7 separate regions of the Homo sapiens genome follow, and regions 1, 2, 3, 4, 5 and 7 are each linked to region 6. Evidence: promoter capture Hi-C in human tissues and cell types (Jung and others, 2019). All regions are on one chromosome and are shown on one strand. The core of a region is centred on a gene start or on the middle of the fragment in contact, and the rest is flanking DNA. Distances in the headings are between cores, read along the strand shown.

Region 1 (3,860 bases), core at 170-2,669, 1.2 Mb after region 6:
GTGCTTACTATTATCCAGGTAGTGTCCTAAGCACTTTATATGTAATACATAATTTAATACAATAATCCTATAAAGTAAGTACTATTTTGATTCCTAATTTCTGAATAAGGAACTTAATCAACTTGATCGTAAATCATGCATGTAGGGCTGAGATTTGAACCCAAGCAATCTAGCTTAGCCTCAGAGTCTGCCCTCTTAACCACTTCTATAGTATCCTAAATAAATATTTTTATGAATAAATACATGAATTGCATAATGTGGCCAATTCAGAGAACTGTTACGCAGTCTTAATTATATTGGATTTCACATTATTTTTGGTCTCTGGGAAAATTTTAGTTTAGCACCCGAGACTTCAGAAATTGTGCTGCCTGAGTTGCAGTACCTTAAAATGCAGACAATGAGAAAGTTATAGTAAAATGTCTCCAAGTGTTACAATGAGAAAATATAAGTAGACACAGGAGCACACACTTAAAATGTCTAATCTAGTCTGGGCGGATGGGGATACCAGGAAAACTTTCAGAGGAAAGGAATAGCACAACTGAAATGGGATCTAAAGGTAGATCAAGACAAAAAGGAAGGAAGGGTGTTCTTGGCAGAGATAATTCCATGTATGACAAGCAAGTGGATAAAAAATAGGGGAGTGTACCTGAGGAACAGAAAAATAAATTGTTCAGTATATTTTTACCCTAGAATGTGTGAGAGAGAAGGGAAAAGATGAAGCTTACAAAGAATGGGGAACAGATCTCAGAAGGCCTGGGAAACCTTAACGAATTTAGACTTTGGGAATAGCAAGTCAGTGATGGATTATATGCAGGCAGATCAAAGAAGCAATATGAAAAGACTTGAGTTTGATTACTGTGGCTGATGTGTGGAGAGCAGATTGGAGGGTGGCAAGGCTGTGGTCTGGGAGTCAGTTTAAAAGGCTGTTCAAGCAATTTAGGAAAGAAGATAAGTTTCACACAGTGTGTGTTTGAGATGTCTGAAAGACAATCAAGTGAAGATGTCCAGAAATACATTGTATTTCTAGAAATGGAACTCAGCAGAGAGGTCTGAAATAGAGAAACTAACATAAGTCCTCGGTCTGAAGTTGTACCTCAGTGCTGAAGAGTGGATGAGAATCCCCAAGAGTGTGGAGTGAGAAGAGTCCCCAAGCCAGAATCCTGAAGAACATCAACATTTAAAGCCTGGGCAAAGGAAAAGAAGACTGAGAGAGGGAGAAAAAATACCAGGAGGTTGTATGTTTTCAAAGCCAGCACATGCATACCGATGTAACAAACCTGCACATTGTGCACATGTACCCTAAAACTTAAAGTATAATAATAATAAAATAAAATAAAATAAAAGGCAAAAAAATGTGGTAATGTAGATCAAAATCCATTCACAGGCAACTAATATGAAGGTTAAAAATATTCATTGGAATTAGCCCCACGGAAGTGCTGTGTGACCTCAGTGAAACGAGATTCTCATTTGGGTCCTGAGCACAGAAATAAAAGACTAAGTACAAAGGGAAAATGTAGACACCTTTTTCCAAAATTGTGGCTTTTAGGAGAAAGAAACTAAGCAATAGCTGGAGAGGGGAGTTCATGAAGAAACTGTTGATTTTAAGATAGCAGGAATGTGAGTGTATCTGAGAACTCACGGGAAGGAGTTGGTGGAGAAAGGTTGAAGGTAAAGGAAACAGAAAGGACAACCCCTATTGCAAAAGCCCTGAGAAGGCAGAAAAAGAAGGAATTCAGGGCCCAAGTCAAGAGCTTGGCCCAGAAAGGAGAGGAGACATTTATTCAGTTGTAAAGGAAGAAAGGAGGAAATAAGAATGAGAATGCAGATAAGTATGTAGGTAGAACTGTCAGAATAATAAGGGATTTTTAATCTGATGGATATAATTTTCTTCATGAATTCAGTTTATTTTAGTGCATTTGTACTTACTAATATTTTCTTTGTACTTATTGGTAAATTGAGTTGACCCTTCTACATATATATATATATTTATAAATATTTACCTGCACTTCTATCTATCTTAGATAAGGTATCTTTAAAATATTTACCTACACTTCTCTCTCTCTCTCTCCCTCTCTCTCTTTCTATCTTAGATAGGTCAAATAGAGACAGAGAGAGAGAGAGAGAGAGAGAGAGAGAGAGAAGTGTAGGTAAATACTTTAAAAATAGCATATAGCCTAACAGCCTATATTACTTGTATTATAATACTTTACAATAGGAAATCAATAAATACATGATGATTGATTTTTGAAAACATCTCATTTTACACTTATGCTAACAATAGGGCAAAAATGTGTCAACTGTTTTAATGTATTCTTCTGTGTTTACCACATGCAACAATAAAAATGCAAAATAAAACTTGGGGGCTAAGAATATTATTCCAATATTTCTATTTCTTGGGTGGCAGTGAAAAAGAGGGCTACAAATTAGGTTGCCTATCATATAAAAAATAACAAATTTTGGTTTTCGTTCTATGTAAATTTCATGTATTGAAATAAAAAGGAATTATCTAATGACATCTATGAAAGTATGCCCAATTAATCAATTCCTTGTTTATGTTTATGCCTTACAAATAAAATACATCTTTGCCATTTCAGCTACTAGCACACTCTCAATTGGATACTATATTAATAGCTTACACCTGAGTGCAATAATCATGAGAGTATTTGGCAAAGGTTTAAATCAAGCTGGTCCAACCTGTGGCCTGCAGGCCACATGCGGCCCAGCATAGCTTTGAATACAGTCCGACACAAATTTGTAAACTTTCTTAAAATCTTATGAGTTTTTTTGTGATTTTTTTTAGCTCATCAGCTATTGTTAATATTAGTATATTTTATGTGTGGCCCACGACAATTCTTCTTCTTCTAATGTGGCCCAGGGAAGCCAAAAGATTGGACAGCCCTGGTTTAAATAAGCCTATATTTGCTAGTGGAAAATTCTGAGAAAATAATTTGACACTGAATCCCACTTACTCTTTTTCATTAAAAAAAATACAGTATAATAGTCCAACAGTTAAACATCTATATCATCAAATGTTTTAAAACAATACTTTGGGGGGGAAAAAGTAATTAAGGCAAAGCTGGGCACCTGGGCTCTGACAACTCCTCTGACAATGCCAGTTGTAAAGCCTAAAGTCACATGTTTCTTACCTAATTTGAGTTTTGCACACAAAATTTGAATTAGACAATTTTCATTCAAATCCCTGTCCCCTTTCTCCCTATAACCTATTTGAACTTCAAACCTTCCTTTCAACTTTTGCATTTCGTAAGGAAGTTCAATTCTCTGTCAAGAATAAAATATTTTCTTTCTTATACAATTCATTATAGATGATGGAAGTCATTTCATTAGTTCTCTTGTAGATGGCAGGTCTGTGTCTCAATTCAAGTAGGTTGAATTTGCCAGTCTCAAAAGACCTTTAATTGGTCTTTGGGGTATCACTCTACCTCCTTTTACTTATATGTGACTTGCTGTCAAAAAATTCTGAGTGTTTAAGCTATATTTGTTTAAGTTAAAATTATCTACACAATATTTCAATAAACTAGTTGGAGACTTATTACCAGTGCAGAAAAAAAAAAAACTTGGCTCACTGTCATATGAAATTCTGGGACAGAACCCATATGACCAAATCTCTAGATTGCTATCCAGGTTATAGTCACTCACTTCTTAATGTTTTGGTCTTATCTAGGTTTGCAAGATTTGGAAACCAAAAACCAGGACTCAGGATACTCAAAGTTGAATTTCACATAAACATTGGATGAATTTTTAATATAATTATATCCCATGCAATATTTAAGATATACTAAAAATTGATTCATTGTTTATCTGATTTCAAATTTAACTAGGTATCATGTATGTTACCTGAC
Region 2 (3,830 bases), core at 715-3,214, 1.2 Mb after region 6:
ACAATCAGTAGCATTTCTATATGCCAATAGCTAACATTGTGAAAAAGACATCAAAAAGTAATTCCATTTATAATAGCGACAAATAAAATAAAATGCCTAGGAATTACTTAACCAAAGAAGTAAAAGATCTCTGGAATAAAAACTATAAAACACTAATGCAAGAAATTGAAGAAGACACCAACAAATGGAAAGATATTCCATCTTTAAAGATTAGAAGAATCAATAGTGTTAAAATGGCCACACTACCCAAAGCAATCTATAGATTTAATGTAATCTCTATCACAACACCAAAGACATTCTTCACAGAAATAGAAAAAACAGTCCTAAACTTTATATGGAACCACAAAAGACCTGAAATAGCCAAAGCTATTCTGAGCAAAAAGAACAAAACTGAGGGAATCACTTTACCTTACTTTAAATTATACTGTGGAGCTGTAGTAACCAAAACAGCAAGGAACCAACATAAATACAGACACATAGATCAGTGGAACAGAATAGAGAACCGACAGATAAAACCCAAACATTTACAGTAAACTCATTTTTGACAAAGGTGCCAAGAACACACATTGGGAAGAGAAACTGTCTCTTCAATAAATATTGCAGAGAAAACTGGATTTGAAGAAGAGTGAAACAAGACCCCTATTTCTTGCTTAAAATCACAATGGATGAAAGACTTAAATTTTAGACCTCAAACTATGAAACCACTAAAAGAGAACATTGGGAAAACCCTCCAGGACCTTGGTTTGGGCAAAGACTTCTTGGGTAATACTCCACAAGCACAGGCAACCAAAGCAAAAATGGACAAATGGCATCACATCAAGTTAAAAACCTTCTGCACAGCAAGGGAAACAATCAACAAAGTGAAGAGACAACCCACAGAATAAAAGAAAATATTTGCAAACTTCCCATCTGACACATGATTAATAACCAGAATATACAAGGAACTCAAACAATTCTATAGGAAAATATCTAACAATCCAATATTTTAAATGGGCAAAAAATCTGAATAGACATTTCTCACAAGAAGACATACAATGGCAAACAGATATATGAAAAGGTGCTCAAAATCATTGATCATCAGAGAAATACAAATCAAAACTACAATGAAATATCATCTCACCCCAGTTAAAATGGCTTATATGCAAAAATCCAGGCAATAACAAATGCTGGTGAAGATGTGGAGTAAAGGGAACCCTGGTACAATGTTAGTGGAAATGTAAATCAGTACAACCACTATGGAGAAGAGTTTGGAGGGTCCTCAAAAAAAATTTGAAATAGTTGATTTCCCCTGGTTGGCAAGATGGTCAAATAGGAACGGCTCTGGTCTGCAGTTCCCAGTGAGATCAATGCAGAAGGCAGGTGATTTCTGCATTTCCAACTGAGGTAACCAGCTCATCTCACTGGAACTGGTTAGACAGTGGGTGCAGCCAACGGACGGCAAGCCAAAGCAAGGTGGGGCATTGCCTCACTTTAGAAGTGCGAGGGGTCAGGGAACTCCCTTCCCTCACCAAGGGAAGCTGTGAGGGACCCTGCCCAGCCTGGATACTACAATTTTCCCACAGTCTTCGCAACTCGCAGACCAGGAGATTCCCTCAGGTACCTATGCCAACAGGGCCCTGGGTTTCAAGCACAAAACGGGGCGGCTGTTTGGGCAGACAGTGAGCTAGCTGCAGGAATTTTTCTTTCACACCCCAGTGGCACCTGGAACACCAGCAAGACAGAAACATTCACTCACCTGGAAGGGGGCTGAAGCCAGGGAGCCAAGTGGTCTAGCTCAGTGGATCCCACCCCTATGGAGCCCAGCAAGCTAAGATCCAATGCTTGAAATTCTTGCTTCCAGCACAGCAGTCTGAAGTCTGAAGAAAAATACTCATTTTATGATGCCAGCATCATCCTGATACCAAAACCTGGCAGAGACACAACAAAAAAAGAAAATTTCAGGCCAATATCCTTGATGAACATCAATGCGAAAATCCTCAATAAAATACTGGCAAACTGAAACCAGCAGCACATCAAAAAGCTTATCCACCACGATCAACTCAGCTTCATCTCTAGGATGCAAGGCTGGTTCAATGTGCACAATTAATAAACGTAATCCATCACATAAACGGAACCAGTGACAAAAACCACATGATTATCTCAATAGATGCAGAAAAGGCCTTCGATAAAATCCAACAACCCCTTCATGGTAAAAAAAACTCTCAATAAACTACACATTGATGGAACATATCTCAAAATAGTAAGACCTATTTATGACAAACCAACAGCCAATATCATACTGAATGGGCAAAAGTTGGAAGCATTCCCTTTGAAAACCAGCACAAGAAAAGGATGCCCTCTCTCACTGCTCCTATTCAACATAGTAGCTATACAGACCAATGGAAAAGAACATATGGATTTTGTTTTTAATCCTGTTTACATGGTGAATCACATTTATTGATTTACATATGTTGAACCAACCCTGTATCTTGGGAATGTAGCCTACCTAATCATGGTGAATTAAGTTTCTGTTGTGCTATTGAATTTGGTTTGCTAGTATTTTGTTGATGTCTCTCTCTTTTTGATTCAGTTTTGGTGCAGTGTATGTATCTAGAAATTTATTAATTCCTTTAGGTTATCTAATTTTTTGGCATATAATTATTCATAATAATCCCTTATGGGCCTTTTAAATTTCTGAAGCACCCACTGTTATGTTTCCTTTTCAGTTTTATTTGAGTCTTCTCTCTTTTTTTCTTAGTCTAGCTAAGAGTTTGTTGATTTTATCTTTAAAATCACATAACATAATGACCTCCAGTTCCAGCCATATTGTTGCAAATGACAGGATCTCATTATTTTCTGTCTGAGCAATACTCTATTGTGTATATCTATCACACTTTCTTTATCCAAGAGTCCTTTATGATAAAAAAAAAATTTTCAAGAAACTAGGCATTGAAGAAACATACCTCGAAATAATTAGTGCCATGTATGTAAAAGTAACAGTCATCAGTGAAGAATTTTTTATATAGTGAAACTAAACTTCATAAATGAAGGAAAAATACAGTCTTTTTCAGACAAACAAATGCTGAGAGAATTTGCCACTATTAAGCCAGCAACACAAGAACTGCTAAAAGGAGCTCTAAATCTTAAATCAAATCTTCAAAATACACCAAAATAGAATTTCTTTAAAGCATACATCTCACAGGACTTATAAAACAAAAACACAATGAAAAAAAGGTATTCAAGCAACAAAGAGCATGATGAATAGAATAGTACCTCACATCTCAATAGGAACATTGAATGTAAATTGCCTAAATGCTCCACTTAAAAGATACAGAATGGCAGAATGAGTAAGAATTCACCAACCAAGTATCTGCTGTCTTCAAGAGACTCGCCTAACAAGTAAGGGCACATGTAAAGTTAAAGGGGTAGAAAAAGATATCCATAAAAATGGACACAAAAGCGAGCAGGAGTCACTATTTTCATATCAGACAAAACAAACTTTAGAGCAACAGCAATTTAAAAAGACAAAGAGAGGCATTTTATAATGATAAAATAACTTGTCCAACAGGAAAATATCACAATCCTAAATATATATGCACCTAACACTGGAACTCCCAAAATTATAAAACAAATACTACTAGACCCAAGAAATGAGACAGAGAGCAACATGATAATAATGGAGGACTTCAATAGTGACAGTACGAGACAGGTCAAGACAGAAAGTGAACAAAGAAACAACGAATTTAAATTATACCATATAACAAATGGACTTAACAGATATTTATAGAACATTTTACCCAACAACTGCAGAATATACATTCTATCCATCAGCACATGGAACATTCTCCAAG
Region 3 (4,163 bases), core at 338-2,837, 1.2 Mb after region 6:
ATTTGAGATATTAATCAATGAAATTAGATATGAGGAAATAGAGACATAAGAACATAAAAGAAGTATAAAGCATCCTATTTGAAGATGACAAGATAGTATACATAAAAAACTCGAGGATTTAATGACTAAACTGAAACCAAAAATAAAATTTAAAACAGTAGAAAGAGAAATACTATACACAAATTAATGTACTCCATATATACAAATTATTAATTAGAAGATACAATGTAAGAGAAATGCTATTTTTCATGGCCACCAAAAAAAATGAAGTACTTAGAAGTAAACCTAACAAGTGATGTTAAAAAGGTTTTTAAAGAAAACTTTAAAATACTCCGAATGAAAAGTGAACTTAAAGGGAAAACTATCTGTTCTTAGATGGTCTGAGTCAACACCACGAAGATGGCAATTCTCACCATGTTAATCTAGAAACAACATGACTCCATAAAAATACAAAGAACAATATGTTTGAAGCTAGATAAGTTGATTTTAAAATTTTAAGGAAAATAATTACGGTAGAAAAACTAGAATAATCCTCAAAAGCAGCAGTAGAGTGCCTAGCCAAACAAATACTAAGATATAATCAAGGCGCGGTGTTACAGGAGTATAAACAGAATCAATGAGAAAGCCCAGTACGTATGTAAATTTTATATATATTATATATATATGTGTGTGTGTGTGTGTGTGTGTGTGTATGTATATATATGTGCATATATGTATATATGTGTATATATGTGTATATGTGTGTATATGTGTGTGTATATATACACACGTGTGTACATATGTATGTACATATGTGTATATATATATACACACATGTGTACGTGTGTGTGTGTGTGTATATATATACATACACATATATATACACCATTTCCAATCACTCCTTTTGGGGAAATGTGATATCAGATCTGTACCTCAAATATACAAAAATAAACTAAAAATAGATCAGATATCTAAATATAAAAAATGAAATCATATATATACTAGAACAGGACATAGATTAATTCCTTTTTAACCTTGATATGGGGAAAGCCTTTCTACCACAAAATCCAGATACAATAAAAGATAAATTAAACTACATAAAATATTTTAAAATAACCTTTTGCAGGAAAAAAACACTATGAGCAAAATCAAAACAAAAATGACAAAATGTGAGAAAATATTTGCAACATATATTGCAGATAAAAGGTTAATATTCCAAAAATATAAAGAAATCTGAAAAATGAGAGAGACATGAACATATGTTCCACAGAAAAAAAAACATATACAAACAGTCTTAAAATACATGTAAGATGCTTCCAGTCACTTAATTTATAAAAACGTAAATTAAAACTCCACTGACTGACCATTTCTTCCTTATCAAGTTGACAGAAATCCAAAGCTTCACCATACACCCTGCTAGTGAGGTTGTGAAGAAACACATCCTCATACGTTGTTGGTCAGAACATCACATTATACCATCCTGTGGAGGGGAATTTAGCAAAAGTTAGCAAAACAAAACCTATCCTTTGATCCAGCAGTTCCACTTCTAAAAATTTAATCTGAGGATATATCTCTACAACTACAAAACGTATGTATAAGTGTTTAAGTGTATTCATTGAAACATTAATTATAATAGCAAAATATTGAAAACAACTTAAATTCCCTGCAGTAGCAAGCAATAGATTTTTATACATTACCGAATATCCAAAAATGGGTACTTTGTAGCTATACAAAACACTAAAGAAGTTGCCAGTAAACTGCTAAGGAGTGATTCCCAGGATATATTGTTAAATGTAAAAATATATATTATAACCTACTGTGTAAGAATGAGGAGAATGAAGACACACATTAAGCATGTTTATTTGTGTATGTATTGCTTAATACATTTGTGTATATATTTGTGAAAATAGACACACTCAGAAAAAAACCAGAAACTAATGAAAATTGTTACCTAAAGATGAAAAGTGGGAAAAAAGTATAAGAGAAAGGAAAAAGAATCAAACTTTTCTGATTCATCCATATATAATATATATATATATAGCATTTGATATGTAAGCATATCACTTCTTTATGTAAATTTAGAAATTAAATCAAGAATCCAAAAAAAATCACTAAAATTGAACAGAAACAGAAACAAATTTAGCTATAGCAAATTTATAACATACGTGTCCGTACACACACACACACACACACACACACAATTTCAGAAATTTTTGAACACAGTACTGTGATTATTAACCCCTAGTAGAATACATTTTAAAGACAAAAAGAACTTTAAAAAACTTTAAGTTTACTTAGCAAGTTTGCTGTTGGTAGTGGTATCGGTGTAGTAATTCTGAAAATATTTTGTGGGTGCTGTAAAATACACTAAATGAATAAATATATTGGTGTTGACAGTCAGGATCTTCACTGTGGAAAAAGTAAGATTCCAACATAGGAAGTGTGGAAGAACTCTGCAATGCAGCTTTCAGTATAAGAGATAGTGTGAAAGAACTCTGCAATGCAGCTTTCAGTATAAGAGATACATATACTGCATTGACTGACTGAATAAGCACATGATGAACCTGAATCTTGGTTTCTAAATACAATTCCCCACTATAAGGAACCAGAGCTCTTTGGAGAAATGGTTGATTCCAGCTCTTAGGCATGGAAAGTGCAAGGTAGGTTTGTAACATATTGCTGAGACAGAAAGCAAAGAAAATGCTCAAAGATTGATAAGGCTATATCAAACGACACGAGGTCAACTTGAAGGGGCTTCTACTTCACATATTTGGGATAATTTGAGCAATCAAAAAAATAATGATGGCAATGGATGATAACACATCAAATATTTTAAAAATTCCTAACTCCATAATGATATTTTAAAAAATAAAAGAGATGGGGAAGAGAAAGTTCTTCCTTGAAGAAAGTCTATTAGTAAATATAAAACAAAAGATATAAATTAAAAAATTTTTATTTTGCAAGCACTAATGCTAAGATTATCATGAATGTTAAAAAATATTAAATCAATTTTTTGAGAGCAAGATTTGTATACAGTCTTAAAGCGTTAACCACAGTTATCTATCAACTGAGAAAAAAGTTTACCTTTTACAATGAAAGAATCTCAGAGATATCAGTTTAATCAAATAAACAATAAAGCATGACCAATAATGGTATAAGTCAATATTATTAATGTGATACACTGAGAAGGACACAAGATCATCTGTTTATTATTCTTGACAAAAAGTATTTCAACTGATTCTAAAAATCCAGAAATAATCAGTGGGACATTGTGAAAAAAATAAAAAAAACACTGGCCTAGACTTTTCAAAATTTCAAATTCATGAGACAAGAGAGGGACTATTCTATATTAAAGACAAGACAACTAAGGGTATTGAATAATCCTTGATTGAATCATCAGTTGAAAAGTGAAACAACTATAAGAAATGTGAATTTCATAATGGAAAAATTTTAATATGGGCTGATATCAGGTATTTTTCTTACATCAATAGTTTATATTTTGGGTGTAACAACACCATTAAGGTTATGAAGAAGAATGTCCTCATCTTGAAGAAATAGATGTTGAAGTATTTGGGGTGAATTATCATGATGTCTGCAACTGATTTCTAAATGGTTCAGTAAATATATTTCTGTATGTGAGAAGGACACAGAGAGAGAGCGAGATTGCCAGTGTAGGAAATTGGTAACCTCTGGTGTACTTAGATGAGACATATGAGTGTTCATTATATATGTTTTTAGTTTATTCATAGGCTTGAAATCTTTCAAAGTAAAAACTTAGGAAATGAAAAAAGTCATTTAGCATTAATGAACAAAATGTATTTATTTTTAAGAGTTTCAAAGTTATTATTTTAAGCAGCACAAAGCTAAGGCTATCTAAAACATAATAATAAAATTATAGTCGGGTTATTTAATTGCCTTTTATCGCCTAAAAATAATAATTAAAAAGGAAGCGTATGCTGTTTATTTACTTAAAGGAATATTCCTATCAGAAAGAAGAATGTAATTTTCTCATATTTTGCCCTCATCCACCAAATATGTGTAATAATTCACAAGAATGTTGACTCTTTTAATAGTTCCAGAAAAGTTTTGCAGATTTTGAGGTAGATGAGTTAAACTGAGGTCATAAATTCAATAATAGCAAAATCACTTCTTAACTTCCACATTAGCATCAGGAACTCTGGCTA
Region 4 (3,917 bases), core at 121-2,620, 1.4 Mb after region 6:
TCTGTTTCTAAATTATTTATTATCATTTAAAAATCAGCAGATTCTCCATAAAGATTCAAATTTAAAACTCCTTTTAAGAAATTAGAGTACAATTGCTTGAACCTGGGAGGCGGAGGTTGCAGTAAGCTGAGATTGCACCACTGCACTCCAGCTGAGTGACAAGGGCAAAACTCCGTCTCAAAAAAAGGAAAAGAAAAGAAAAGAAATTAGAGTACAATATCAGACAGTACATGGCTCATATTTCGATGGCAGAAACCCACTGGAGCCTCCGAGCAAGTGCACTCTTTAGACCAAGTATGTGCTCTATAATCCCCACAGTCTCCACCACTATCTAGTGACTTGCACATGTTCCCGACTCTAAATTACCTAACTGCTCCCTCTGTAATCATTTGAGTTTTCAACCAGCATAAGCCTGTCATCTTGGGCATCTTTATCAATAACTGTAACAAGCCAGTTACAGTTCCTTTCAATTTTCCACTCTGATTTTGGAGGATATATCCACTAACCTGATTCAGACCCCAAGTATCTCCTACGTGGACCACTGCAAGTGGTTCTCCTTGTTTCCAGTCTAGCCACCTATTTAATTAATTCCCTATGCTGCCTCCAGAGAGATTTTCTTCAAAACTCATAAAAAATGTGGTATGGTATGCTGGTGAGAACAAAAAACTCTGAAACTAGACAATCTGAGTTCTACTCTCACCTCTGCAACTTATTAGCTATGATTCTTGAACAACTTATTAACCTCACTGCTTGTTTCCTCAGCTATAAACTGGAGATAATAATTAACAGTCTATGTACATCATGGGATTCTTATGAGTATTAACTGAGTTAAAATATGTAAAGCACTTAAAATAGTGTCTGACATATAGCAAGAGCTATATGTTAACTGTTACTATTATCATCTCTCTCCCTTTTTCTTAAAATTGCTTCATGGCTTCCCACTCCCTGCTGACAGTTCTTGCCATTTATGATATGACCACAAACTGTGTATCTACTCTAATTTTCCATTTCTAGCTACACTGAATTACTTGCCATTTCTTGAAAATAAATCACCACTGTTAAACCTCCAGGCTTTTATATTTATTTTTCTCTTACTATGAGAAACACCATTCTCCATTTCCTTGGCTTGGAAAATTCAAGCTTTCTGCTTTGGAATCCAGGTCGAAGACACCACCTCTGTGAAGTCTTCCCTCTCAACTACACACTTAAGCAAAATTCCATCCACTGCATTCCAAAGACACTCTTTATATATGCTATTAGAGTACTTATAACATATATCATGGGTTTTTGGGTCTACATTCCAACTCTGTGGAGTTTTTATCTGTCTGACTTTTGACAAATAATTTGACTTCTCTGTGCTTCAGTTTCCTCATCTGAAAATGGAGATTACGATAGTACCTACCTCAAAGGTTTGTTGGGATTAAATAAAATAATATATGCAAAAGCCATGTCCAATATGTGAAACATAAAGCTTGACACACATTTTTACTATCATCATCATTATTATGAGTGTAATATTCAAATTAATAAGTCTGGCACTGAACATTTTCTAGGCCCTCCTCTCTAAGCTCCCTCTGTTATTTCTAGAGAAGTGTAGGCTTTGGTAATGAGAAAGCCAAAAGAATCCAAAAAGAATCACATGTTCTTAAAAGAAGGGAACTTTTCTAAAGCATCTTTTAGCACAGGACCTGGAAGTAGTAGGAGAGCCCTTAAATCTTTGTTAAGTGAGTAAGTATCCAGAGGAGAAAAGAAAAGGAAGGCCATTGCTGTGTATATCCTATATATATGCCTATATATGCCCTAAATATTGTATACTTAAATCATAAAAAATGTTTTTCCACTTCCTTCCCTGGAATCTTCTCTGGTATCTTATTTTTGGAAACCACAGACAGTATTATAATATTTTTATATAGAGGCAGTTATAAGCAGACTTTATCAACAAATGAATTGAGGTTTATATAATGGCTCTATCACTTCCTAGCTGCATGAACATGGATGAGACACACAACTCTCTGCACCTCAGTTGCTTGATTGTTACATGGAATTAATAATGCCTATTTTCAGGTTTACTGTGAGCATTAGATGGGAAAGCACGACAGCACCACGTATAGAGTCTGGCATATGGTATGGGATCAATAATTGGTAGCTATTAAGAGATTATCTTCGAGATCGCGCCACTGCACTCCAGCCTGGGCGACAGAGCGAGACTCCGTCTCAAAAAAAAAAAAAGAGATTATCTTCTTTTTGTATCATTTTTAAGTTTTCTAACAGACTTGGATTCTACAATTCCTACTTTTTAAAGGTAAAGGATCCACGATCTCTTAGAAGAGTCTTAAATATTCAGAGTTTAAATGCAGGCTGGTGAAAACGTAGGCCGGGGAGAGGAGTGCCTACAGAAGGGCACTGGAGGCAGAAAGATACGTGTGTTTAGGTATTTATGAACAATTTACTGTGCTAGAACATCAAACATAAGACAAGGATTGTGGAGATGGAAGGCTAGAGGTATAGACAAGGGCAGATAATGGAAAACCCTGGGTGCCATGTTAAAGAGCTTATTCTGTAGGTTAAGTAGATCTGTACGAAGGTAGCAGAGAATTGATATAATTATATTTTTGTTTTACATCTATACCCCTGATGTGGCATGTGATTCAAAGAAGAGATGGCTAGGGTCTCAGGGATCTATTAGGAGATTCTTCCAGCCAATATTCAAAATCAGAGAAAGAAAGACCTAAACTAGGGCAGAGACAGTGGAGATAGCAATAAGGAATAGTTTAAGAAATATTTGTCATGCAAAAATCAGCTGGATAAGTAACTGATTGGAGCAGGGGTGAGGGAATGGGAAGAGTGACAGAGCTTTATGGCTTTCTTGACTGGTTTTTGGTACCATCAATTGAATTAGAGACTGAATGAATTGTTTTAGGAAAGAGATGTTGATTTCAGCACTAAAAATGTCCAGTTTTAGGTAATTGAAAGCAACAGTGAAGCTGACCAGAAGGCTTTGGAACATATAGGGACAAAAATAGGTGTAGTTTTGGTTAATGAGAGAGTAGCATAATATTCCAAAGGGAAGAGCAGGTGCCAGGCAATGTCAGAGGCAAGTATCAACTCTACATTTGGAGAATTATATACCATCCATATGTATCTTGGAATTTTGTATCAATATCATTTTTATTATATTGTTGAAGACAATGATGTAGGGTGCTATGCAGTTTGCAAAGGGCTTTCACCAGTGCTATTTCACTTCGTCTTTGAGAGAAATCTATCAGAGAGACATGAAAGCTCTCATTCCCATTTTATAGGTGAAAAAAATGGGGTTTTGAATAGTTAAATTGTTTTCCAAAAACATAACGTCAACCAATGACTATATTCCAAACATTTATTCTGACTCTAAGTTTTAACCACATTTATGATACCATTGGGGCGAATGTTCAACCTAAGGATTTAGTCAGAAAAGTGTCTTCTACTAAATCACTGATTCAAACTAACCTTACCTATTGTCTTGAAAATTAATTAGGTTCAACATCATTCCTGTTGGTTGGGGAATCTCATCTATTGGTCTTCTGTTAATTGAGCATTATTATAAGTAGGCATACAGTATGGGAAGACAAAAGACAGTGTTTAAGAACTCAAACAATGAGCCAGAAACACAGGGCTTGAAACCCAGTTCTACCATTTACCAGCTGTCTGACGTTAAGTAGTTATTTAATCACTCTGACACTCAGTTTTGTTACCAATATATTGGGGATAATGATAGGATATATTTCACATGGTTGTCAGTAAAAGATTAGTGATTTAATACCAATCAAGTGTTTAGAATAATGCCTAGGCACTTAATGTTGTCTATCTTTATATTATTGAATTTGAAACATTATTATATGCACACATTCCCCAGTACCTGGTATGCAGCTATTGATATG
Region 5 (3,664 bases), core at 294-2,793, 1.0 Mb after region 6:
TCTGAGTATCTGCTGACATTCTCATTAGAATTCTTAAACGCAGGTGGCTCATGCCTGTAATCTCAGCACTTTGGGAGGCGGAGGCTGGCGGATCACGAGGTCAGAAGATCGAGACCATCCTGGCTAACACGGTGAAACTCCGTCTCTACAAAAAATACAAAAAATTAGCCAGGCGTGGTAGCGGACGCCTGTAGTCCCAGCTACTCGGGAGGCTGAGGCAGGAGAATGGCGTGAACCTGGGAGGCGGAGCTTGCTGTTAGCCGAGATCGCGCCACTGCACTCCAGCCTGGGCAACAAAGCGAGACTCCGTCTCAAAAAAAAAAAAAAAAAAAAAAAAAAAAGAATTCTTAAAAGCAGACACCATGCACATGTTGTGGGCCACCAGGTTAGTTCATACTTAATAGCAGTATATTGACTGTCACCAAACAGACCGCATTCTACACCATAATCCAGCTAAAGCATTGCACCATTTCCCCAAATTCTTAGGTTTTTTTGTTTTTGTTTTTGTTTTCCCCTCATGGATCTTATGCTGACAAATTTAAACTAGAATGTTTTTAAATGCATCTATTTGACCTTAAATTATGATTCCAAACACTATCAAGCTTTTTGTTCTAACTCAGATGTGGTAATTAAAAAATAATTACAATGCTACTATCTAATAAAATGAAATTTTCATCCAGTCTGCTGTTACATTTCATTTGAATCATTACAAACAATCATTTCATTTCCAGATCATGTTATTAAGAAATAGGTTGTTTGGTTCTTATCAGTCTCTTATTTTCTTCGAGAAATTAGGTATTTCCCCTGTTTTACCATCAATCTCTAAAGTGATAAAGTTTATTTCTAATTATTTAGATTTGGGTGCAGAATCTCATATAAATCGGGTTCAAACTTATTTGATGTAGGGAAAACAGTGAAAAAGTTCTCAGAAGCACGAACTGACGCTTGGGTATAGTTGTTACGGACTACAAAACACAGATGCTGTTTTACCCTCTTTTCCCCAAACCAGTCTATGTTTACGTTGAATCACTTCCTAGAGCTTGAGAAATCTTGTTTAGCTTTGTGTGTTAAATAGTTTTCCAGCTCAATGTCATCAATTTTTACGCCCAAACAAGTATGTGTCTCCTTCTTGAGGTTTGGTGGCATATATTGCCAAATCAATTACATTCAGAATCATGCATCCAGTCCTAATTTAGATAGATTTGAAATTTTATTTAAAGGTCTTTTATCCATGCTACTAGGAACACCGAATATGTGATCTGCCAGATGGCTTCACCTGCAGTCTCACTTCACACATGTAAAAGGGCTTGCCTGGTATAGAAAGTCCCCAAACAAGTAAACACAAGCATCTTTCTGAATATAAATAAAATTATCTTATATAAAAATAATCCTTTCAATTGAGATACTTGTATGTTCCTAAATTTTTGCCTGTATGAAGTTCAACGCACTCCACAATTTATTTGCCACCCTTCCCAGTTAAAACTATTAGTACACAAACAATAGAACTGGTCAGAATCTTATAGGGAAGTTTAATATGGTCTCTGTCTTCAAGAGAATAATAATAAATATACAATGTAATCTAATTTTGACATCCTTTCAAGTGTTCTGGGAATATAGTGATTTACATATGCTGTTAGGCCTGGAGGTTTTCAGGAAAGGATTCCCTGGAATAGGTGATGTTCTAGCTGAATCTTATGAGTTTAATTTGGCCAGGAAAAGGTGAAGAAAGCATCTAGTCAGAGAGAAGATCCCCAAGACAGGTATGCAGGATGGTCAGGAAACAACAACCAGATTTTTATGCCAGAATATAAGGCATGAGACATATTAGTGGGACCTGAGTCTGGAGACTGGATACAAGTGCCAGGTAAGGCCATTCTAAGAGGTTCAAAATGTACCATAGATCAAAAGGAGTCAACAAAGGGGTTTAAAAGGGAAATAGATGGGTTAGGTTTTAGGTCTGCATTTTTGAATTATTGCTTTAACTGCAATCATTGCCACAGGTTGACTAAGGAAGAAAAATGAGAGGTATGATCTCTCAGGGGGGAGGAGTTTCTCCTAATGAGATCTGCCTCCTCACATGCAGAGACCCTTGAATCTGTGAGTTCCTTGTGCACATCTAATTCTGGACTTGCATTCTACAGCTACTTTTTCCCTCCCCTTCATGAGTTAAGCCTCATGTACCATTCTCTTCCCTATACCCTGATTTAACTTCCTTAATTCTACTATTCTCTAAGACTCCAGTCAACTCCTATCAACTTCCTTCTCCTGGAGAAGAGAAATAAAAAGAAGCAAATAAATTGCATTCTTCAATGAAACAGGCTGCAAATGCATAATATTAATCATATGTTTACATATTTCACATACCAAACTATTCTAAAACCAAACAGCTACAGTGTGGCTCTATGTAATTAGTTTCCTTATATTTTATGTTTATCCAGTGATATATCCATTTTATGATAAAAATAATTTTCGTAGATACATATACAACACCAGCCAATGACATAAAGAATACAAGTAAAAGTTATATTCCAGGAAAAAATCAAATGATTAATTCCTAAGTGTTCAAGTAGAACATTAAAAGAGAAACAAATAGTACCATACACATAGGTATGTGTGTGTACATATATACACAACTATGGGAATAATTATTTTTCTATTTTAAGATATGTTGTTGAGCTTACTTGGTTGCTAGAAAATCTTTGTAAAAAGCACCCTGAAATAGCACCATGGAGACTTAAGACAAAAAAAAAAAAATTCCACTACTATATAGCTTTCCGTGTGGAAACCATAATGCTCTTGATAAAGACCATCATGTATTGGGACATATATGCTGTTTTCTACTATTTCTTTGATTAGCCCTCATTCTTGCTCTTCAGGGTTTCTATCATAATACAAGAAAATAAAATTTTAAGCCCAGAAGGATTTTTACAGTAATGCAAGCTATTGATCGGTGCATTTTTTTCAACCAAAGCTTACTATTGCGTCCAGATTCCTTACAGTTCCCATATGCCCAGCGGGTTAATATTAGGTAAGGTACAAGCTGTTAGAAAACTACTAGTACATTTTTTTTTCCACTCAGTGTTGCTACATATTTGAAGCTCCTATGGGGAAATAATGAAAACTTTATTTCTTTGTTTTATCCAAACCTCAGAGTTCAGATATGCTTTGAGTGAAAAAGGTCAGTCATAAAGTACTCATTCAAACCATGATTTTCCATTGTTGGTTAATGCTAAGTTTTTTGTTTGTTTGTTATTTTTTATTTTTATTTTTCATAATTTCAAGGTAGTTTTTCAGCCACATCCCCTGCCCTGCCTAACCCCTCTAGTAGTCCCAAGCATCTCCTCTTCCTATTTTTATGTCCATGTGTACTTGGTTGAAACATTTATTTTCAGGGTCATGATCATGCTTGTTGTCTCACACAGAATGACATCCTAAATAGCGACCTCCCCCACCACAGAAGACTAGGGGTAAACTATAGACATTGTTATGGTCTTCTCTAACTTAGCATCTTATCTTTCCACAATCTGCCCCTTCCAGTCTCTGCTTGAACCTTCTTCTTCTGACTTCTGGTCTCAGGTCCTTTGGCTATTACAGCTAGATGCATCCTATGCCTAATCTCTAGAGACTGGCCTTCATTCAAAGGCAACTTTAGGAAAAGCTTAAG
Region 6 (3,955 bases), core at 273-2,772:
TCTGTCTCCTGTTACAAAACCAAACTCTCACCACCTCCTTCTCCAGCTGTAAGCTGTCCGCGAGGGAGGTGATCTCCTGGGCCGAGGGCTTGGGGCATTTGAGGAAATGGCTCTCCAGAGCCCCCTTGACGCTCACCTCGATGGAGGTCCGCTTTTTCCGCTTGCGCCCTTGCGCTGCGATCTTGTCTATGCTCGTGGGGCTGCCCGAGGACGAGTCCGCCTCCTCCAACCACTTGTTCAACAAAGGCTTCAGCTTGCACATGTTCTTGAAGCTCAGCTGCAGGGCCTCAAACCTGCAGATGGTGGTCTGCGAGAACACGTTGCCATACAGGGTGCCCAGAGCCAGCCCCACGTCCGCTTGGGTAAATCCCAGTTTGATCCGCCGCTGCTTGAACTGCTTGGCGAACTGCTCCAGGTCGTCCGAGGTCGGCGTGTCCTCGTCCGAGTGCGGGTCGTGGTGCGCGCCTGGGTGGCCAGGCGGACCCTGCGGGGGCGGCGGGGGCGGCGGCTGCTGGTGTGGGTGCGAGTGCGGGTGCGGGTGGTGGTCGGCATGGTGTGGCTCGTCGTGCGCGTCCCGCAGGCCGTGGTGGTGCAGACCGGCCGGCTGCCCGCCGGCGCCCAGCATGCCGTTCACCGTGAAGCTGGGCTGCGAGTAGAGCAAGCCGCCGTTGGACGCTCCCATGGAGGGTGGGAGGTGCGCTGCAGCCGCCGCGCTCCGCCATGCCCCGGGTCCCGGGTGGTGGTTAGCGGCGTGGTGCACCAGATGCGGCGGCCGCTGTTGCTGCTGCTGCTGCTGCTGTTGCTGCTGTTGCTGCTGCTGTTGCTGTTGCTGCTGCTGATGCTGCTGCTGCAGGGCGCCTGGCCCGTGCAGCTCGTCTCCGCGGCCGCCCTGCTGCACCACCACCGAGGGCTTGATGTCCGGCTGGCCCAGGGGGCTGGTGGACCACGGGGAGCCGTCGCCGCCGCCCCCGCCGCCGCCCCCGCCCCCCCCGCCGCCGCCACCGCCCCCGCCGCCGCCGCCGTGGGACAGCGCGGTGATCCACTGGTGAGCGTGGCTGAGCGGGTGTCCGTTGCTCTGCAGAGCGCCGTAGTCGCCCTGCACCAGGCTCTGCGCTTCGCGGTAGCCCCCCGCGCCCTGCTGCATGCCGCCGGGCGGCTCGGCGTGCACGATGGAGGCGCTGGAGGTGAGCAGGCTGTAGTGGTTAGACGCTGCGGTCGCCATGACTCTCGGAGCCGGACTGAGCGCTCCGGTTAAAGGAGCCGCGCATTTGACAGTTACTTTTTCGCCTCGGGCTCCCTCTCCTCGCTCGCTCTTTCTGTCTCCTCTCTCTCCCACAGCGGGCAGCTCCGACGCCCGCTCCGACGCCTTCTGTTGCTGCTCCTGCTATTACTGCTGCTGCTGCCGCCGCCGCCGCCTCCCGCCCGCCCTCGCTCTCTTTCTCCTCCTCTCCCTCCTTCTCGCTCTCGCTCACTCTCTGACTAGCTCGGCGCTCCCCCCTCTCCCTGCTCTCTCCAGCTCTCTCCCGCTCTCTTGGCAGCGCCGGCTCGCAGCGGCACGCGCCTGGGCCCCGCCCCCTCCGCCCCCTCCCATTGGCTCCGCGCCCTTTGATTTACGTGGATACCGCTAGCAACCTCCCAGGCCGGCGCCACTGATTGGCGCAGAGCTACTCCCTCCCCCTCCCCCGGGCTCGGAGTCCTCCTAGCCCTCCTCCCCGTCCCCTTCGCCTCCCGATTCAGATTCTCTCAGTTCTCACCCCCCCGCTTCTTCCTCACCCGGGGCCTCCTCCGCCCTCTCTCGGATGGGCCCCGCCCCCCATCTGTCTCCCAGGCAGAGAAGACCGGCAGGGGGGCGGTCCCGGTGCTCTTATCGGCCACAGACACTTGGAAGACTTGGATTGGGGTGGGGGGCGGGAGGCAGTGGTGTCCACTTTCGTTTCCCAATAGGGCTTTAAGATGGGGAAACGGAGGGGGTAAGGGAAAAGCTGGGTCGCACCGAGCCAGCGGGAGTCGGATTTTTATTCACCTAGGGACACACACACAGTGTGTATCTCTTAAACCTAGAGCCAAGAGCCAGACCTGTTCCCCTGTTCAACTCTCCTTGCATCCCACGGTTAGAATTTCAGTGCACAAGTGTCTCTTGCTCCAGGGTGTGCGGACACTTCGGCCCAAAGCTCTTCTCCTTCCCCTCTACCCCGCGGCTAGCACAGGCTCTCTTCCTTTTAGGTTCCAGGCCCAATTGTCTCCCACTCCCTTGGGGAAAGAACCCCGAGAGAGGCAGGCTCAGCCCGCACCGCGGCTTGTAAGTCATTCCCATCAAGGCTCGGAGTTGCTTGCTCTGACAGCGTAGCGGTCTGAACTGAAAACCAAACAAAACTCTAAAAGTCTCTCCGTCAGATTCACACGCCGGCGCGTGCAGTTTTTGGTTTAGAAAACTAGAAGCCTGCGTGGGCTCCGTCTTGTGCGAGGCTGCCGGAGTGCTGGCGAGGGGTGTGCGGCCTTGTAGGGGCGGCGCAGTCGCCAAAGGCCGCTCCGGGAAGCCGCGCGGAGGGCCTGCGTGCGCGATTCCCCGTGCTCCTACCGCTGGTAGGTGCAACTTTTCCGTTAGCCCCTTGGGAAGGAGGAAGAGTGTGTGAAGCAAATGGGCTGATGCCAGGGGAACCTTCCTAATCAGTAACTTCGGTGGGCGCTAGCGGGTGGGGTTAGTCTATGTCTTTGGCGCTCCCTGGCCAAGCTCCCAGCTCAGCTTTCAGCAGTGAACTCCAGAGCAAGACTATGGGACCATGCACCCGCAGCGCCGCTCTACGGAGCGCGGGCGCGTCGCGCCATCAGTTCTTTAGCCGCCCAGAGCAGGTGCCGCCTGCGAGTTTCCGAGCCTGCAAGCCCGGTAGCTAGAACTTGGGCGCGGACCCAGGCTGGAGCGGCGTGACCGCCACGCAGGGCCGGGTGTGTACATGGGCGCTGTAAAGCGAATCAACAGTTACTGCCGGGAAGGGAATGACAGACCCCAGGGAACCTGGATCGCGTCCCCACCTCTCACCCCTCGCTCTATCGCTGGTTTTGCCGGCGGTCGTAGGCTTGAGAGGGCAGCCAAATCAACGCTCAGAGGGAGCATTTTGGGGCCTCTGAGCATCTGAATCCAGACAGCAGACTGGAGCGGGCCAGAAAATTCATCATGACTAACAAGGAGTCATGCTCTTTGGAGAGTGGCTGAGCTGTTTATAAATCACCACGTTGAGCACCCGCCCGGGCAAGACGCTTTGGCTGAGAATTTCCACGTGTCCTGTGTTTATGAGCGTGTGTGGGGGAGAGAAATGGATAGGGGAGGGGCGAGCCCACAGGCCGCCAGCAGGACGGACCTGCACCCCCACCACGCGCGCACCCGCGCGGCGAGGCGAGGCGAGGACACACACAGCGTGTCGCTCCGTCCCAGCGCAAGCGCGGGGCCACTCTGGCCGCGCGCCTGGGGGCTGCTAGGAATCCCATAACTTTGTCTAGCTAGGAAAAAATGAACAAGTCCGAGCCTCAGCGCGCAGACTCAGCGACTGGTGCCCGCGGCTCCGCAACCGCGAGCCAAGGGGCTGGGTGGCGGGCAGAACCGCCTTCTCCCGGCTTCGGCCCTGCGTCCCCTGTGCTAGGCGCGTGACTTTCCCTGGGCCTTGGGGAGCGCACAGACAGCCCGCCAGCCGCATCTTCTCCTGACATGTCGTGCCTTTCTTTTCGCGGACCTGGAGCTCAGAGCTCCCACGGACAGAAGAATCCAGCCCTGGGGAAGGGCCGCGTCCAAGTGCTAAGCAGCTCATACTTCTCCCCCACCTTTCTGGGGCAGGTGTCTGCTTTTCTCTGGATTTAATTTCACATTTCTCGAGGCACAAGGCCTTCTGCAGCCCATAGGATGATACACTCGAAAGAAGAATGAAGTTTTCAAACACATCTTCGAAGGAACTGAGGCGGCCTG
Region 7 (4,013 bases), core at 350-2,849, 1.1 Mb after region 6:
TGTTGGTTGTTAAATTTTGTATCACAGGAGGGTCCCCCTATATTAGCATACTCTCCCTTATTTAACTTTATATTCTACCCCACAATCCTTATCCAACACCTTTAGAATCCACTCTCAAGAATGCTTTCTTAGTTACTGCTGTACTTGTTAGCTATTCTTGCAACTCTGAGCATATAATCCATCCCCTCCTTTAGGAAGCTCCACATTTTTTCAACTGTGTTAGGCTAAGATAGTGATCCTAGTTGCTGTTTATGTGACCAAGAAGGGAGTAGGAGGCAGATCCAGAAGTACTTAGTAACATCCTGTAAAGCATCTGCCTGCCTCATGTGAGTTTTCTCACAGTCTTCAACCAAGAGGTGGCAGAGGCATTATCTTTCAACAAGGGGGACCACTGTACAAACCCAAAAGTTCCAGGGGAATCTGGGAGTCCAAGGATTACATGTACAGCAGATCCTCAAATAACATTGTTTCATTCGATGTCATTGTATTGTAACATTGATAAGAAAAGCAATCCATTCTGGCATTCTGGCCAGAGCCACTGTTTGTGTAGTTTGTACACTGTCTCCATGTCTGCATGGATTTCCTCTAGATACTCCAATTTCCTCCAACAACCCAAAGATGTACACATGAGGTGAAGTGGAATGTCCACGTTGTCGCAGTCTGAGTGTGCATGGGTGTATGTGTGAGTATGCCCTGCAATGATGGGATGGAGCCCTGTCCAGGGCTGGTTCTTACTTCTGCCCTCAACTGCCATCATAGGCTCCTAACACACTTGACCCTGAACTGGAACAAGTGGGTTGGAAAATAAATGAATGAATGGAACACAAATTACTATCAAATAAAAATTCTTCAAGTCTATGATAATCACACAAATGCACAACAATAAATGATGCAGGGAGAAAGTGCCCATTGAGCCCACAATATTTATTTGCATTTGAACTGTGTGCTGGCAAGAGGTGCTCTTACAATTTTTGCTTTGCAAACATTTATTCCTTCATTTAACCCACCTGCACCATGATCACCATCACTCACTGATTCACCAAAAAAAAATGGGTAAAGAATTATCTTATGTGTTTTTATTAATCTTTCTTAAGTGTGTGTACTGCTCACACTTAAGTCAGTGTTTAATATTAGGAGTGTTTGGGGTCTTTATTTAGAAGTTTGGTGATTTTTTTTTGACCAGAAATATTCCATAGGAACTTAACTCTTGTTTATATAAATTAGTCTATGGTAAATTTTGTTTCATTATGTGTCATTTTATTCAAAATCACCATTTCCAAAAAAATATCAATAACATTAAGTGAAGATTTACTCTATATATACCCAGATAACCCTATCCCAAGTTTCAGTGCCCTTTTCTTTACTTTTCAGGACTCTGAGTTTGGCATATAAGACTTTCCATGGCTGGGAATTATGCTTTCTCTTTAGTTCTGTGACTTTTATAATTAAGTCCTATGCCTGTTCTTCAGTTCATCTGCCCTCCAGCTGTAGGAACTGAAGGTCTGTTTACAAGCTGCCAAAGAGGCCCTCTGACTTTCATACTTGGCTTTAAATTGGTGATTGATTGCCCTGAGCCTGTTATTTCATCTCTTTGAAACATCAATGGCATTCAGAAATAGCCTCTGAATTCCACAGACCTTCAAATTTATATTTCTCTTGTACCTCTCCAACACCAGAGATTTTGCACAAACCAGTGCATCTTCTTCTGCCCATATCCCATCCAAGTTGACCTCAGTGATAACCTTAGCAATTGCACTGTGGCTGCATGTCAGAAGCTACCACCAGTGATAAGTCATTGGTATAAGCCAGCTCTCAAGTTTCTAACTTCAGGATGCCATTCTTGAGGTCTGCTTTCTAAGACCACTTTTGATAGAATTTTAAGCCAGTTTCCCTAGAAACAAAGCCTGATCCAGGGTTTTTAGAGCTTTATTGAGGAAGATGTTTTCAGGAGTGCCTCTAAGAGTGAGCATAAAGCAGGATAGGGAAGAAGAAAGAGGTGATCAAGAATGTGGTCTCGGGTAAAGTGTAGTCTTGGGCTGATCCATTTGTATTGTAGGGAGTCTGAAATATAAATCCCACTGGAGTGTTGTTCCCTTTTGAGGCAAGAAAGCTAGACTTCTATAGCCCTGTATATTCCAGGCATTGTTTACATACCATTCCTGAAGGAGGAAAGAAGTGTCACAGCCTCCTTGGCTAGTTTGCTCCTAATAGCTAAGGGCAATTTTTAGGGCGCAGTGGGTGGAGAGATGAGGAGTTAGGAGGTGGGTGGATGGGAGCTCTGATACATTTGCAAACAGCATTGCCAGCAGCTGAGGAATAAGTGCAACAACCCAGGAAGGGGGACCTAGGCAAGACACCACAGCTTCTACTGAGCTCGAACAATCACTGACCCTAGCATCAGGAAAATCATTTAATTGGTGATCCCAGATAGTTTTTTAAAAACAGATTCATCCAGAATCTGTTTGGGCATAGAAAAATGGTAGATATACAAATGTCCACATAACCAAAGATCTATGAAGCAGCTCCATACTATAACATGGAAGAATCAGAATATCTGTACAGAGGAATTCATCAGATGATATCAAACTTGGGACTAGAAGTTGACCCCACATGACATTCTGCTGGAGAGGACATGTAGGACAAATTCATTCGCCTGCCAGCACAACTCTCTTCTCTCATTCAAGAATGGCTGCCAGCCAGCAGCAACTGAAATTCTATCCAAACACAGAGAAAGAACTTTTAAGGTAACAAAATCAGAAAGTCAAGCTCTTAAAAAAATTGATTATAATATTTGTTTCATCCAAGAAGACAGTTAAAAAAAGGTTCTTTTGAAAACATCAATAAATCGTTAGTATCTAAAAGAGCAAAGGACCTTATTACAACATCACAATCCTATCCACAGGGTAATTCAATTACTGAGTCTGTTCTACACCAAGCGAAGTCAAGAGAGCATGTTCCCAAAATATTATTACCTTTTCTTTATACACATTTGCATCTCTGTCTAGTGTTCCAGTCCTTACACCAACCCAGGAGTTTGGTGGTTCTTTGGCATGATTAAAATGTGAAACACCTCCATCAGCAACATCCCATGATGCCAGCCCATGTTTAACAAGGATATTAAATATTTTCATCTTCTTCCTCCCCATTAAACCTTAAAGGGTCAACATTCCATTTCAATAATGATTGAGTCTACACATCCCTGTAAAATATCACTGACATGATGAAAAAATTAAAAAGCAAATTTAAAAATGAAAAAATACAAAAACAACTTTTAAAAAATACTTGGTATTGCTAAAATACAGAAGCTGTCAATGGTCAAGAAACATTAATTTTTCTTTTCTGGAAGTTGTGAAGGAGAATGACTTAGATTAAAAGAAAAACTGATTGTTGTTGACTGGCCTGTTATTCAACATTAACAAAGGAGAAGAACTTACAAACTGAGTAGTTAGGTTTCCCCAACAGAACTCAGAAAATCCCCAAGGTCTACACAGTACGACATAAAGCAAAGACAGTTCCTAGAGGAGGCTGTCTCCCAGAAGGGTGGCCCATTGTTTATTTTTACTTCATCTGATGCACAGTTTGTATGAAGCTTGTATTTTACCTTGGTGTTCTTCAATAAGAGAAGCTGGGTGAGTAAAGAGGGAATGTGGGATTTACAATACCCCAGCTAACTTTAGACCACTTCAATAAATCCAAAAGGAAAGAAAAAATAAATAAAGCCTAGGTAGAACTGTGACTTTCTCTCACACGTGAATTGTCACAATTTCCCTCTTTTGTCCATTCCTACTGGAGACTGCACCTTTGCACTGTTTTGACATCCCCAAGTTCCACCAGCAGGAATTGGAGAAGAGAATATGTTAAGGAATACATGTTGAGAGAAAAATCAAAGGTCATAGAAACTACTTGAATACCATCAATAAATAATTTTTAAAATATAGAATATTAAACAATTATAAAAAGAAATGAATTAATACAAATTAACTAAGATAGAAAAATCACCAATGTATTAAGAA

Evidence for each region. Contacts are between HindIII fragments. The study calls those that stand out against the background at their distance.
Region 1: a contact is called between a fragment that was not itself captured here and the fragment with the promoter of POU3F2 in region 6, in 2 of the 25 tissues and cell types used here (dorsolateral prefrontal cortex and lymphoblastoid cells).
Region 2: a contact is called between a fragment that was not itself captured here and the fragment with the promoter of POU3F2 in region 6, in 1 of the 25 tissues and cell types used here (dorsolateral prefrontal cortex).
Region 3: a contact is called between a fragment that was not itself captured here and the fragment with the promoter of POU3F2 in region 6, in 1 of the 25 tissues and cell types used here (H1 embryonic stem cells).
Region 4: a contact is called between a fragment that was not itself captured here and the fragment with the promoter of POU3F2 in region 6, in 1 of the 25 tissues and cell types used here (dorsolateral prefrontal cortex).
Region 5: a fragment that was not itself captured here is called in contact with the fragment with the promoter of POU3F2 in region 6 in 1 of the 25 tissues and cell types used here (dorsolateral prefrontal cortex).
Region 7: a contact is called between a fragment that was not itself captured here and the fragment with the promoter of POU3F2 in region 6, in 3 of the 25 tissues and cell types used here (H1 embryonic stem cells, dorsolateral prefrontal cortex and heart left ventricle).

What each region holds. Positions count from the first base shown.
Region 1 is chr6:97,658,900-97,662,759 of GRCh38, reverse strand. The region is part of intron 3 of LOC101927314 (a long non-coding RNA gene); the gene reads right to left. Among named protein-coding and RNA genes, the nearest start is that of MIR2113, 360 kb to the left of the region's middle. The HindIII fragment of the contact is 6,000 bases long and covers 1-3,860 here.
Region 2 is chr6:97,610,245-97,614,074 of GRCh38, reverse strand. LOC101927314 (a long non-coding RNA gene) reads right to left here. Exons shown (of 5, transcript NR_110757.1): 2 at 1,736-1,907. Among named protein-coding and RNA genes, the nearest start is that of MMS22L, 330 kb to the right of the region's middle. The HindIII fragment of the contact is 4,357 bases long and covers 1-3,830 here.
Region 3 is chr6:97,630,784-97,634,946 of GRCh38, reverse strand. All of the region lies in intron 3 of LOC101927314 (a long non-coding RNA gene), which reads right to left. Among named protein-coding and RNA genes, the nearest start is that of MMS22L, 350 kb to the right of the region's middle. The HindIII fragment of the contact is 6,336 bases long and covers 1-4,163 here.
Region 4 is chr6:97,424,674-97,428,590 of GRCh38, reverse strand. All of the region lies in intron 1 of LOC101927314 (a long non-coding RNA gene), which reads right to left. Among named protein-coding and RNA genes, the nearest start is that of MMS22L, 140 kb to the right of the region's middle. The HindIII fragment of the contact is 4,910 bases long and covers 1-3,825 here.
Region 5 is chr6:97,823,946-97,827,609 of GRCh38, reverse strand. No RefSeq gene overlaps it. Among named protein-coding and RNA genes, the nearest start is that of MIR2113, 200 kb to the left of the region's middle. The HindIII fragment of the contact is 4,404 bases long and covers 1-3,664 here.
Region 6 is chr6:98,832,141-98,836,095 of GRCh38, reverse strand. POU3F2 (POU class 3 homeobox 2) reads right to left here and starts at 1,522. Exons shown (of 1, transcript NM_005604.4): 1 at 1-1,522. The coding sequence starts at 1,222. RefSeq lists enhancers at 1-208, 209-805, 804-873 and a silencer at 1,512-1,581. The HindIII fragment of the contact is 21,173 bases long and covers 1-3,955 here.
Region 7 is chr6:97,718,085-97,722,097 of GRCh38, reverse strand. No RefSeq gene overlaps it. Among named protein-coding and RNA genes, the nearest start is that of MIR2113, 300 kb to the left of the region's middle. The HindIII fragment of the contact is 5,166 bases long and covers 1-4,013 here.